Regions from separate parts of the Homo sapiens genome. Here all the other regions are linked to region 2. The links are contacts of gene promoters, found by promoter capture Hi-C in blood cells and fetal thymus (Javierre and others, 2016). All regions are on one chromosome and are shown on one strand. Each heading gives the region's core, a stretch centred on a gene start or on the middle of the fragment in contact. The rest is flanking DNA. Distances are from core to core; before and after follow the strand shown. Region 1 overlaps KAT6A (lysine acetyltransferase 6A). Region 2 holds the start of THAP1 (THAP domain containing 1). Region 3 has its middle 5.3 kb from the start of AP3M2. Region 4 overlaps KAT6A (lysine acetyltransferase 6A).

Region 1 (3,539 bases), core at 467-2,966, 880 kb after region 2:
GGGATATCAAGTAGATAGTGGGATATGTGTCTCTGGAGTTCAAAGAACAGGTCTGGGCTGAAATTTTCAATTCAGGACTCACCAGCAAGTAGGTTGTTTTTTTGAAAAATGAGACTAGATGAGATCACCAAGGGAGAAGAGAAGAACTTTGAGTCTAGGTTATTCCAACTTTTAGAGATTGGAGAAACTGAGAAGGAATGGCCAGTGAAGTAGGAAAAAAAACATGAAGGTGTAGTTCCTTAGAAGCTAAGTGAAGAATGTGTTGTAAGAAGGAAGGATCAGTTTTTAAATTCTGCAAATAGGCCAAGTAAGAAGAGAACTGAAAATTGACTGTCCAGCTTAGCAACAAGGAAGTAATCTTGAGAAACTGTTTCCATGATGGGGACAGGGGAGGGTGAAGAGATAATTGGAGTGGTTTCAAGAAAGAATGGAAGGAGAAATTGGTTATAGTAGTAATATGTGGCCATTGTTTTGAGGTTTTTTACAGTAATTAGGAGCAGAGAAAGGGAGAGTTGGATAGAGCTGTGAGGGCTAAAGAAGATACTTTTTTTTTTTTTTTTTTTTTTGAGATGGAGTCTCGCTCTGTCACCAGGCTGGAGTGCAGTGGCACCATCTCGGCTCATTGCAACCGCCACGTCCCGGGTTCAAGGGATTCTCCTGCCTCAGCCTCCCGAGTAGCTGGTACTACAGGTGTGCGCCACCACTCCCAACTAATTTTTCTATTTTTAGTAGGGACAGGGTTTCACCATGTTGGCCAGGATGGTCTCGATCTCTTGACCTTGTGACCCGCCCACCTTGGCCTCCCAAAGTGTTAGGATTACAGGGGTGAGCCACCATGCCCACACACCCCTCTCCCCCTTTTTAAAATATGGAATGAATAACAGCTGTTTGTATGCTGATGGAATGCTCTGGTAGAGGGAAAGCTGATGATGCAGAAGATAGGAGGGGAACTGCTGGGTGATGTTCTTTGGCTAGGGAGCAGGAAGATGTTATCTCATGCACAAACGGAAGCCGTGGGCTTAGGAGCTCAATCTTTAGCCATAGTATTGGTGAAAGGCAGGATGTGTGGCACAAAGGTGGAGGCAGACAGATGTGGGTGGGAAAAATTGCAGAAGTTTTCTTTTGATTTTGTCCAGTTTAGTGCAGTAGGAAGCAAAAGCATTGGCTGAAAGTGAAGGTGGAGTAAGCAGTGTTGGAGGCTTGAGCAGAGGAGAAAGGGTGCAGTTGTCTTTCAGAACGGGAGAGTGAATGGAGTAGGAAGCATCAGGACCTGCTTGAGGTTTGTGGGTAGGTGTATAATGTGAGACTGGGTAGCATGATTCTCTGTTTTTCTCCACCCATATTCACATTAAGGTAATAACTTCGATTATGTGAAGAGTTGAATTTAACAGGGGTTAGGATTTTGTTGTGAAATTAGAAGAGAAACTAGAGAGTTAAAGGTCTATGCAAAGGGTGGAATTACAGGGAAAAAGACCTTAGAATCTAAGCTGCGTAGAGAGAAAGGAGGGTGTGGGGAGAGTGGAAAGCTGATGGAAGCACTGGATTATGGGTCCTCCGGATGGAAAAGGTAAGATGGCCGAGGACAGAATTCTAGATTTTGTCAATATTTAATGGTAAAAGAATTAGCAAAGGAGATGGATAAAGAGAAGTCTGAGTGTAGAGCAAAAAGGCTTAGGAAAAGGGAAAGATAGGTCACAATATCCAGAATCCTGAAATTTAAGGAGTCCTGAAAATTTGAAAAAAAATAATTGTGGTAAAATATACATAATGTAAAAGTTATTTTAACCAGACTTTTTTTTTTTTTTTTTTTTGAGACGGAGTCTTACTCTGTCACCCAGGCTGGAGTACAGCGGCGTCATCTTGGCTCACTGCAAGCTCCGCCTCCCGGGTTCTCGCCATTCTTTGTATTTTTAGTAGAGACGGGGTTTCACCTTGCTAGCCAGGATGGTCTCGATCGTGATCCGCCGGCCTTGGCCTCCCAAAGTGCTGGGATTACAGGCATGAGCCACTGCGCCCGGCCTAACCAGACCATTTTTAAGTGTACAATTCAGTGGCATTAAAGACATTCACCTTGTTGTGCAATCATCACCATCATCTATTTCCAGAACTTTTTTATCTTGCAAAACTGGAACTCTGTACCCATTAAACAACTCCCAACCCCCCACCCCTACCCCCACCCCTGGTAAGCATCATTCTGTCTTCTGCCTTTATTAATTTGTCTACTCTAGGTACCATAAGTAGAATTATACAATATTTGTCCTTTTGTGTCTGGCTGTTTCACTTAGCATAATGTCCCCAAGGTTCATATGTATTTTAGCCTGTGTCAGAATTGCCTTCCTTGTATTTTTTTTTTTTTTCTTTAAAGACAGAGTCTTGCACTGTTGCCCAGGCTGGAGTGCAGTTGCGCGATCTTGGCTCACTGCAACCTCTGCCTCCCGGGTTCAAGTGTTTCTTCTGCCTCAGCCTCCCGAGTAGCTGGGACTACAGGCATGTGCCATACACCCAGCTAATTATTGTATTTTTAGTAGAGACGGGGTTTCACCACGTTGGCCAGGATGGTCTCAATCTCTTGACCTCATGATCTGCCCACCTTGGCCTCCCAGAGTGCTGGGATTACAGGCGTGAGCCACCAGCGCCCAACCATTGCCTTCCTTTTTAAGGCTGGAGAATATTCCATTGTACGTATGTACCACATTTGGTTTATCCATTCATCTGTCAGTGGATACTTGGGTTGTAAATAGTGCTGCTATGAACATGAGTATGCAAATAGATACCCATATACAAAGAACTGCTTTCAGTTCTGTGGGGTCTATAATCAGCAGTGGAATTGCTAGATTATGTGGTAATTCTGTTTACTTTTTTGAGGAACCATCATACTGTTTTCCACAGCAGCTGTGCCATTTTGTATTCCCGCCAGCAATGGGACAAGGGTTCTGATTTTTCCACATCTTCACCAACATCTGTTATTTTCTGGTGTTTTGCATTTAAAAATAATAACCATCCTAATGGGTGTGAAGTAGTATCTGATTGTGGTTTGATTTACATTTTCCTAATTATTAGTGATGTTGAGCATCTTTTCATGAGCTTATTGGCCATCTGTATATCTTCTTTGGAGAATGGAAAGAAACTTTTCCAACTTTTTTTTTTTTTTTTTTTTTCGAGACAGTCTGGCTCTGTCACCCAGGCTGGAGTGCAGTGGCGCGATCTGGGCTCATTGCAAGCTCTGCCTCCTGGGTTCACCCCATTCTCCTGCCTCAGCCTCTGAGTAGCTGGGACTACAGGTGCCCGCCACCAAGCTCCTCAGCTAATTTTTTGTATTTTTAGTAGAGATGGGGTTTCACCTTGTTAGCCAGGATGGTCTCGATCTCCTGACCTCGTGATCCGCCCACCTCAGCCTCCCAGAGTGCTGGGATTACAGGCGTGAGCCACCACGCCCGGCCTTTTCTAACTCATTTTGCAATAAAGTCCCACTTGACCTGAACTGAGTTACTGACAAAAACATGATCTGAGCTGATGTGAGACTATTTGTATTCCTTACT
Region 2 (3,468 bases), core at 303-2,802:
ACTCCACAGACAGAGTAGGGCATTCCCGAAAGTAAGAGGAGGAACGCGTCCACCCTAAGTACAACACTTAGTTTATATATAGGATAAAAAAAGATCATGGGGAGATGTGCTTTGCTACAAGGGTTTGTGATAAAGGATTAATTACTATATTATGTAAGAATCGATATTATCTTTATTTATGAGACAGAGTCTTACTCTGTCGCCCAGGCTGGAGTGCAGTGGTGCAAGCACGGCTCACTGCAACCCCCGCCTCCCGGATTCAAGCGATTATCCTGCCTCAGCCTCCAGAGTAGCTGAAATTCGAGGGCATGTGCCACCACACCCGGTTAATTTTTGTATTTTTAGTAGAGACGTTTTCACCATGTTGACCAGGCTAGTCTTGAACTCCTGACCTCAAGTGATCCGCCCGCCTCGGCCTTCCAAAGTGCTGGGATTACAGGCGTGAGGCACTGTGCCCAGCCCAATATTATTATCTTTAAAGCAAAATTAGGAATGCTTCTGTTCTCAAAATATCGGGATATCTGGACACTTGGTAGTCTGGGTCTGTGTAGTAAACATTATCAATCTGTTGCCTTAATGGTATACACATCTAGAGGCTAGGAATACCTAACTTCCCGGGAATGCAGCCCAGCAAGTCCCAGCCTCATTTTCCTAGCCCTCACTCAACACAGAGTCGCTCTAGTTCGAACCCCTCTAACATATTCTCTCTCAGGTGTGAAAATTGCTGCAGCAGTTCGCTATTTGCAACACAGCACATGGAAATCACAGCAATGGAGAGCCTTCAGAAAAGCTTCTGGGGAGGGACAGCCTGGTGGCTCAACTCCTGTAATCCCAACCCATGGGGAGGTCGAGATGGGAGGATCCCTTGAGCTCGAGTTCCAGACTGACCTGGGCAACGTGGGGAGACAACGCCTCTATTTATTTAAAAAATTACATATATATATATATATATACATACACACACACATATATACATACACACATATATACATACATATACATACATATATATAAAACGCTTCTGCGTTGGCAATTGAGATGATTTGGCGAGTGTGTCTTTTTTCATTGCTAAAAATCTGTCACGTTGGCTCTCACAGAAACTTGTGATACCTGAAGACACAGGTAATGGGATAAAGATTAGCACTCTGGGAAAAGGTTCCACAATTTTATTAATCATACACCATCTGTGTCCGCCCTTTTAAAGAAATGGGCGCAATCAGCCAACGACCTCGGCTTTACACCTGTTCTCCAAGAGGCCCTAGTTGTTCCCTACTGTAAGCTGCCCCAGAAAAGGTCCGCATCAATTAACCCACGGGAACAGCCCGGGGCTGGAGGATGCCCCAGGAATCCGGCCTCCCGCCGCGCCTCCTCCCCCCACAAGCAGTTCCTTCCTGCCTGCCGGAAGCTCAGGGCTCCGCCCACTTCGGCAACTCTGAAGCCACCGCCGGAAACACCTGGCCTCAGCCAATAGTTAGCTTCCCAGGAAACGTTACCTCTGACCTCGGGGCTAATCAGAGACAGTGGGACGCACCCCTCGCGAGAGGTGAGGTTGAAGCTGCCTCCGCCATCTTGGAGATGGGAGACGGGCGATGGCTGTGGTCCTTCTGCTAATGCAAACAACAAAACGGGCACACTAGTCACCCCCGAGGGAGGCCACCATCACTGTAACTGTTGGCCAAAGCTACAAAAGAAGCGAGGGAATCCAACCGAGCGCAGCGACACTGAGAACAGCTTCCCCTGCCTTCTGCGGCGGCAGAAGTGAAGTGCCTGAGGACCGGAAGGATGGTGCAGTCCTGCTCCGCCTACGGCTGCAAGAACCGCTACGACAAGGACAAGCCCGTTTCTTTCCACAAGTGAGGACCCTGCGCGCCTCGCGGGGCCGGTCTCAGCCGGGGTGGGGGCGCGCGGCCGGCGGGGCCGGGGGCGGAGCCAGGCGCGTGTCCGCGCGAGGGGCGGGTGGGGTCTGGGGCCGGCCGTGTCGGGCGTTTCCCACCGCGTCCCGCTGGGAACCGCCGCCCGATCGCGCGTTCTCGGCGCGCGTCGCCGCGGCAGCCGTTTCTCGCGCTCCTGGAACAGGCCCTGGTTGCAGGCTTCGCTCACGGCCTGGGTTGACGCGTTCGGAGCCCACGGGCGATGCCTAGGGTGGCGCGGGTTTTGCCACCACCAGGGTCACAGAGCAGCCAGGTGTTTTAATATGGTCTTAGGGGTAAATTTAAAATAGAAACAAAGGCCTTTAAACGAAGAAATCACTACTTTTCGCCCTTGCCGTGGATGGGAGGCCAGCATCGTAGCAATTAAGGGTTTTTTGGCTGGGAAATCAGGGAGAATTTTTGCCCCCAATCTCTAGGAACTAAGCTTTAAGGACCCTGTATTTTGGAGAAAGCTTCAGGTACTGCCGAGATAAATCGTTATCTTTTCAGCACACAATAATGATAATATGGACAGTTACAACATGGATCATAATAAAATGACTCACACGGATCTTTATTTATTATGGCATTACCTGTGCATAGAGAAAGCTCTTTCGAAAGAAACTGCCCCACAGCTTTCAGAGCTGTCTTATCCAGTAGGTAGCACAGTTAAGTGATAGGATCAAAAATATTCTCTTGAAAATAGGAAAAAAGTGCAGAGTTGTAATTACTTATGATAAACGCTTGTAAAATGTGACATAACATTTTCATTCAGCTGAATTTGTTTACAAATTTTAATTACATTTATGTTAAGTTTTCTTTGCAAGAATTCCTGACAGCTATACGCAGATGATAGGTAAGAAATCAGATCCAGGGGTAAACTATACAGATTAGCCATAGGTAATTAGCTAATTATCTTTTATAATTAGGTAAATAATTACAAAAGCAAAATGTTAAATATCTTTTCAGTTAATTTATTTTTTTGCTGTGGGGCCATCTGTGTTTACTAGGGGAGTGTCCATGCATTTTTTAAATATGTTTGATATCATGTGAGATGGACCCTATAGAAATAAGAGTGTGTAGAACATAGAGAGGTCTCCAGAGTAATAATGTTACCCCTTGGAGAAGGGGATAGAACACTTAGAGGATTCAGTTCAGGATATCCTAATATTATCTCTTGATTTAATTGGAATTTCTGTAAACATGTTCTTTCTAAATGTAGGGAAAGGTCAGGTGATGGTAACAGGATTACATGCCCAGCTCCCCACCCACATTTCTGATGGCTTGGCAGAAGGAATCTAAAATTATGGAAAATGTTTCATTGGCACTGGAAACTAGTTTAAAGAGGGTATTCACACGTCGGAAATAACTGTTTTTGTCGAGGCACGATGGCTCATGCCTGTAATTCCCAGCACTTGGGGAGGCCAAGGTGGGCGGATCACCTGACGTCAGGAGTTCGAGACCAGCCTGGCCAACATGGCAAAATCCCGTCTCTACTAAAAATACAAAATACAGGCGTACGCCTGTAATCTTAGCTACTTGGGAGGCTGAGGTAGGG
Region 3 (3,185 bases), core at 609-3,108, 700 kb after region 2:
CAAACATCCAAAGTATATCAATATATCTGTGAGCTCCATTAACTATCCAAGTGGAGATGTTGAGAAGGCAGCTGGACATATAAGTCCAGGGTTCAGGAGAGTGGGCTGAGCTTGAGATATAAATTTGGGTGTTTTCAGTATATGGATATTTAAAGTAGTAGGACCTGTTGAGATGACCGAGGGAAGGAGTGTGGAGAGATAAGAGAACCAGATTCCAGGGACACTCCAAATTTAAGAGTTCACATAAGAGAGGAGGATCTGAAATCATTTAATCCCCCCAACTACTCTAAAATGAATTACCGTTGTGATCCCCTTTTCGTAGATGAGGAAGCTGCAAAGACAGCTTAAATAACTGCCCAAGGTCGAACAGCAAAGCTGTGATTCAAGGACGTTGGAAGATCTGAGCAGAATGGCTCAGATTCCACACTTCCTACCTCTAAGCCCAGGAACCCATTGAAGAAATGTGAAGCAGGAGAGTGGCACACTTTCAGATTTCCATTTCAGAAAGACTATGTGTGCAGGATGGACTGTAACAGGCTGAGCCTGGAGGCTGGGAGGTTATTTAGACAATTGCAGTAATCCCTAGGAGAGAGCTAGTGCCTGGAGCCATGAGGCAGGGATTAGAGAGAAGTGGACACCTTCCAGAGAAGATAGGGATTAGGGATTAATGGAATGTCAGTGGTGAGGCAGAGTAGGTTTCTGATTCGGGCAATGACATGGATGGAAGCATCATGTGTTGAGATGGGGATCACTGGAAGAGAGGCCCCTTGCGGGGAGGGCGCATGAATCCAGTATATAGCAATGCCTGGGGGCATGAACCAAGTTGACACTCAAGTGTTTGTTGAATTGAATCAAGTAACATAGAATCTGAGAGCTCATGTAATACTTTCCCATGACTTTAAGAGAGGCCACAGGAAATCATTGACAAATGATAAGTCAGTCTATTTTGTGCATAAAAATCTCTAGGGAAAGATTTCCTAAAGCTGCCACTCACAAACCATTCTAATGTTTAACAGCTCTCACTGCTGAGAAATTTTTCTACCATAAAAAGTTAATCCTAGCTATCAGGATTCACTGGGAACCATTTATTTATTTATTTATTTATATTTCATTTTTGGTCTGAGACAAGAGAGGCCTTGCCCACCCAGAAAGACATTTTTTTCAGAGCTGCAACATCATTTCTGCGTCTTTGCCACTTCCTCCCTGTTCACACGTATGCTCTCCTTGCAACACACCTCACTACCGGTCATGCACTGAAGCAATGGAATGCCTTCTCCTCATGCCTCCCTTCTCACGGAGCCCTCTACCTGGCACATGTTTGTCTTTTACTCATCCTATTTTGGAAATTCGCTCCAGCCCGCAAGGCCCAGCCATATGTTTCCTCCTCCACAAAGTCTGTTTGAAGCTTCTTGCCCCCACACTGGGAGTAATGTTTCCCTCCTCTGTGATCAAAGAGCATTTCCCAGCTCTTTCATGTAACCTACAGAGCGGGCACACTCTGCCATGCATCAACATGTGCATCTGCTGACCAAATCTGGATTCTAAGCTCTTTGGGAAACCACAGTGTGTCTCACAATGTCTAGTGAACAATCACCTATTAAACTAACAGTGATGGAGTGCTTACAACCTCCTGGACACTGCGGGTACAAAGATGCGGTACTCTATGTTACTTCAAGGAACATACAGTCAAGTGGAGGGGGGATTTAAAGTGTAGACTGCTCCCCTTATCAAAACCAGGCCGGGCGCCGTGGCTCACACCTGTAATCCCAGCACTTTGGGAGGCCAAGGCGGGTGGATCACCTGAAGTCAAGAGTTCGAGACCAGCCTGGCCAACATGGTGAAACCTTGTCTCTACTAAAAATAGAAAAAAAAAAAATTAGCCCAGTGTGGTGGCATGCACCTATAGTCCCAGCTACTCGGGGAGGCTGAGGCAGGAGAATCACTTGAACCCAGGAGGCAGAAGTTGCAGTGAGCCAAGATCACGCCACTGCACTCCAGCCTGGGCCACAGAGGGAGACTCCATCTCAAAAAAAAAAAAAAAAAAAAACCAGCTCCTTTAAGCCTGGCCATGAAAGGAGCCTGTCCATGTGGAGAGGAGAGACTGAACCTGACGCCCTACTCTAGAAAAAGAGATCCGCTTTCCCCTTAGGGACCTCTCACTGCTGGCTGCAGCTCCCACCACCATACTGGTTTTGGGAGGGTCAGTATCCCTTTAACTCTTCAATGGCATTTAAGACACACTATTTTTTGTTGTTTGTTTAATTTCCTATAGCAGAGCAGAGACCAGGATGGACATTTATCCAAAGCTTGTCTAAAGACTTGAAGATAGGCCGAGCACAGTGGCTCACGCCTGTAATCCCAACATTTTGGGAGACAGAGGTGGGCGGATCACTTGAGGTCAGGAGTTCGAGACCAGCCTGGCCAACCCATTTCTACTAAAAATACAAAAATTAGCTGGGCATGGTGGCGGCCACCTGTAATCCCAGCTACTCGGGAGGCCGAGGCATGAGAATGGCTTGAACCTGGAAGGCAGAGTTTGCAGTGAGCCAAGATCGTGCCATTGCACTCCAGCCTGGGTGATAGAACGAGACTCAGTCTCAAAAAAAAAAAAAAAAAAGACTTGAAGATAACAGAAAGGAAGTGAGCAGAAAGAGTAACATGCAACTAAAAATGTAGCTCACAAATGTGATCCAATCCGGGCATCTTAGATGTCTCTATGGGATGCACACCTGCTTCCAGGGGACAGGGATGCTGTGTACCTCCTCTCACCTAGGAGCCCCGGCAAGCCATCTGGAGTTCCTGAAATCCAAACCTTGTCTGACAAGGAGACAGCAGCCTCCCTCTCCTGGTGGCCTCAGGCTGGCCTCCTGGTTCCAGTCTCCTGAGGGACATAATTATTGCACCAAATGGTCCCTTCCCCAGATGATTAGCCACAAGAATATCCAATCATGAGGCCACACCCTCACCTCAGGGGCATGGCATTATTCTGTGGCTTGTTAGTAGACGCTCCGCGGTTCTTTCTCTGCACTCTCCCTAGATGGCTTCATGAGTGTAATACCCTTTTAATGATGACAGCTCTCGATGTATCTCCAACCTCAACTGTTTTCCCCAGCTTAGTAAACAATACCACCATCCATCCAGCTACTCAAACCCATGAGTCATCCTCAAGTCCTCCATTACCCTCA
Region 4 (3,392 bases), core at 869-3,368, 810 kb after region 2:
AACTGTGATGAATCTGGAAAGAAAATTTATATCATTCAGTCTTCCTGAAGCTGTAAGAATCTCCTTAACATCTATTAGATTTATTTTCTCTTTGCATTTAAAGTTTTGGAGAAAATATCTTTGTCATACTGACTTGGTTCTTAGCTATGTAAGAGGACTAAATCTAGGTGCGGAGTTTGCTGGTTTAAATAGAATTAAAAATTTATTTTTTTCTGGTGACCTGGAGAGTGTTTCTTAAAATTATAATAATGAATACTTTTCATGCTCTGATTTATGTATAGGAATTATTAAGAGCTTCACTCTGATAAAGTTATTTACCACTTGGCTACTCAGGGGTGGAGTCATTTCACAAAGGATCTGCAGCGAATGAATTAGACCAGGAGTAACTTCACCCTTCTGCTTGTCCCAGCTGGAGCAGGATTAGGACTCATTCAGCTGCAGCTGGTTCCCAGGAAAATGAAAGCAGTTCCTTCTGGTTTTTTCCTTTCATATGAAAGTCATAGTTCCCAGCAGATGGCTTTCATCAGCCCTGTACATGTATCTGTAAATTCAAGGCCAAGGAATTATTTTCAACTTCATTAGGGAACAGGTGAAGAAACCATTTGTAGTGTGGCACTATTTTATTAGGAGTTGAAATTAAGCATAGAGATTATAGTAGTATGCCATTCTGGGTCAAAATAGTTTTTAACTGTCAGCAATTTAAAGAAAAAAAAAGACTGCTAAGGAAAAGTAAGTCTGGCTGTAGTGTTGATTGAGGTATCTTTTATGGTTGAATTGTATTATGCTTACGAAACATAGATTATTAGAAAAAAAGACTTGTATCTTCTGCATTGTGTAGAATGTTCAGCCAGTAGCAATCTTGGATCACAGTGATTCTAATCTGATTTCACAAATAATAGGGAAATTTGAGAGCCAAAGAGGTTGAAGTGTCTTGTCCAGTGCCACACAGCCAGTTAATACCATCTGGAAGAATTGGTCAGGCCCTTCTCAATTTTGTGCTTTTTTCATTATGCTGTAGTACTGCTTTATAGTATTAGAGAGCAGTGAGCCTAAAATAATTTAGTTAGAATTCTCTTCCTTAATGGAAACCATAGAATAAACCTTGTCTAGAGAATATTGGTGGTATCGTAAACCACAAATATATAAATCTGCTATTTCAGTGTGTGAAAATAGCTATACACTCTTGTTAGAGTTTTGAAACAACTTTTTGGGAAAAGACTGCTTTCTTATGGCCCAAGTTAGAGGAATCAAGGTTTTCTTATGTTGTTGGCTAAATATTAGAAGGGGAACATGTTGAGCTACCTTAATGCTGGAAGAAAAAGTACTCCTTGAGTTTTGGGAAAAAAAGTCCATTTAAAGGTAAGTCTAATTTTCAGTAGGTCTGCAACACAAATGACCTCTGAGTGACTTGGATCATTGGTTAGAATTTAAAATTCTTGAGACTGAGCTAGAGATAGCAAGGTACAAACCTTTCTATTAATTAATGAAGTAATTTTTACCAAAGACATTAAATATGGGTGGACCAAAAGTGTATAGTCTAGCACTTCTATAAACATAGTGTCTGGGAGGAGCTTGAGAGATTTGTAATGTTACTTGTAAACAGACCGTGTGGGGAAGACCGCAGACAGCACATCATTTTTTGTCTTTATTGGTCTTTATGACTAACACTTCATCTCTGCATCACTTCTGCTTTGCTGTAAAACTTAGCAAGTACATTAGGATAGTGGCAAATAAAGATTAAGATTGAGGACAGATGTTTGTAAAATAACTGGGCGATTTTAAGATTATAGGTGTAACTTGTTAAGAAGAAGATAACTGGTGTGGAAATAAAATCTGGCAGCCAAAAAAAAAAAAAAAGCTTTCAATGTGTTAAAGAAGATAGTTGCTTCTTTTGCCGTTTACCTTTTATGTAGAATAGGTGATTCCGCAGATCTAGAGGTGTTGTCAGACTTGTACTATGGGCTGCGTTTTCCTCCAGGGAATTGTGAACTGTAGTTGACCTGAAGAGCTGCTAAGTGTTGGTTTTTAATTCTTTGAGCTTAGTAAAGTCTAGGTTCCTTTTTTCTTAGTCATTGGGTACAGTGAAGCATTTAACTCCTGAGTTTTCTAGAACCTTTAACAGAACTCTCAGAAACATTATTACTATTTTTGTGTGTGGAGTGTGATTCTGTACTTTAATAGTTTCCCAATTTTTCTATTCAGGGCATCTTTAAATATCTAACTTACTATTTAAACCCTCTTTCACCATTTTCCTGCCTTACTTTTTTCCATGCCACTCAGTTTTTCTTTAATTCTGTAACATAAATCCAAAGCCTTATTCTTTGGAAAGCAGTGGTACTTGGCACTAAATTCACTTTAGCATTACCTGAGGAAGCTTAAAAAATAAATACCAAACTAATTAAATTTGACTAGTAGTGAGGCCCAGGTTTCAGTTTTTTTTATTTTTTATTTTTTTAAGAATGTTTATCTGATGTGCAGCTGGGGTTGAGAACCATTGCTCTAATGCTTAGAACCAACATCTCTGTAGTGGGGACTGGCTAAGAGAGTCAGAAGACAGAAGAAGCAGGTACTTTTTAACCTCATAATTGACATTCAAACAAATGATGAAATAGCATGCTTCACACACACCCTCATGAACACACTTTGGACCCAGGACAGTGTACTTCTGGAAATGTACATTCTGTTTTATTGTCCTCCCTGGCTATAACTACTCTAATCTTCCACCTTTCTTTCTCCTTACCCTCACTGCTTTATCTCAAGAAGATCTTGTGTGGTATATAGTTGCGAGAAAGTTACCTGCATGATTCCGACAGGTGCCCTGCCATCACTCTAATGCTGTTCTCATTGCTTGGCCTTATGGCACATTCTCACTCACTCACTACTCCTGCATCATGTTGGCAAACTCCAGCCATTTACCACCTTCTCCTTTTTTTTTTGAGTTGGAGTCTTGCTCTGTCACCCAGGCTGGAGTGCAGTGGTGCGATCTCTGCTCACTGCAACCTCCATCTCCTGGGTTCAAGCGATTCTTCTGCCTCAGCCTCCCAAGCAGCTGGGATTACAGGTGCCTGCTACCACCCCTGGCTAATTTTTGTATTTTTTTAGTGGAGACGGGGTTTCATCATGTTGGCTAGGCTGGTCTTGAACTCCTGACCTCAGGTGATCTGCCCACCTTGGCCTCCCAAAGTGCTGGGATTACAGGCATGAGCCATCGTGCCCAACCTCTCTGCTTTAACTTTGGGGAAAATCTCATGACCATGTGGTGGGATGCCACTTACAAATTTGTGGCCTCCAATCTGAGCTCTGCCCTCTGCTTGAAGATGTATGTCTGTGTATAGTCTGTTCTGTCTGCAGAAATTCAGTATTTCTTCCCACCTTTTTTTCTCATTTTCAGT

The links. The method cuts DNA at HindIII sites, captures the fragments that hold promoters and counts their contacts. A CHiCAGO score of 5 or more calls a contact.
Region 1: a contact is called between a fragment that was not itself captured here and the fragment with the promoter of THAP1 in region 2, in 1 of 17 cell types (activated CD4 T cells). The highest score is 5.5, in activated CD4 T cells.
Region 3: a fragment that was not itself captured here is called in contact with the fragment with the promoter of THAP1 in region 2 in 1 of 17 cell types (fetal thymus); the score reaches 8.1 in fetal thymus.
Region 4: a contact is called between a fragment that was not itself captured here and the fragment with the promoter of THAP1 in region 2, in 2 of 17 cell types (total CD8 T cells and monocytes). The highest score is 6.8, in total CD8 T cells.

Annotation. Positions count from the first base shown.
Region 1 is chr8:41,958,779-41,962,317 of GRCh38, reverse strand. The region is part of intron 8 of KAT6A (lysine acetyltransferase 6A); the gene reads left to right. Among named protein-coding and RNA genes, the nearest start is that of KAT6A-AS1, 91 kb to the left of the region's middle. The HindIII fragment of the contact is 5,570 bases long and covers 1-3,539 here.
Region 2 is chr8:42,841,409-42,844,876 of GRCh38, reverse strand. THAP1 (THAP domain containing 1) reads left to right here and starts at 1,552. Exons shown (of 3, transcript NM_018105.3): 1 at 1,552-1,853. The coding sequence starts at 1,783. It overlaps LOC124901940 (a long non-coding RNA gene), which reads right to left and starts at 1,943. Exons shown (of 2, transcript XR_007060901.1): 1 at 1,494-1,943; 2 at 1-1,110. RefSeq lists enhancers at 1,474-1,833, 1,169-1,959 and a silencer at 1,864-1,953. The HindIII fragment of the contact is 1,565 bases long and covers 793-2,357 here.
Region 3 is chr8:42,146,152-42,149,336 of GRCh38, reverse strand. No RefSeq gene overlaps it. Among named protein-coding and RNA genes, the nearest start is that of AP3M2, 5.3 kb to the left of the region's middle. The HindIII fragment of the contact is 901 bases long and covers 1,408-2,308 here.
Region 4 is chr8:42,036,157-42,039,548 of GRCh38, reverse strand. The region is part of intron 2 of KAT6A (lysine acetyltransferase 6A); the gene reads left to right. Among named protein-coding and RNA genes, the nearest start is that of KAT6A-AS1, 14 kb to the left of the region's middle. The HindIII fragment of the contact is 516 bases long and covers 1,861-2,376 here.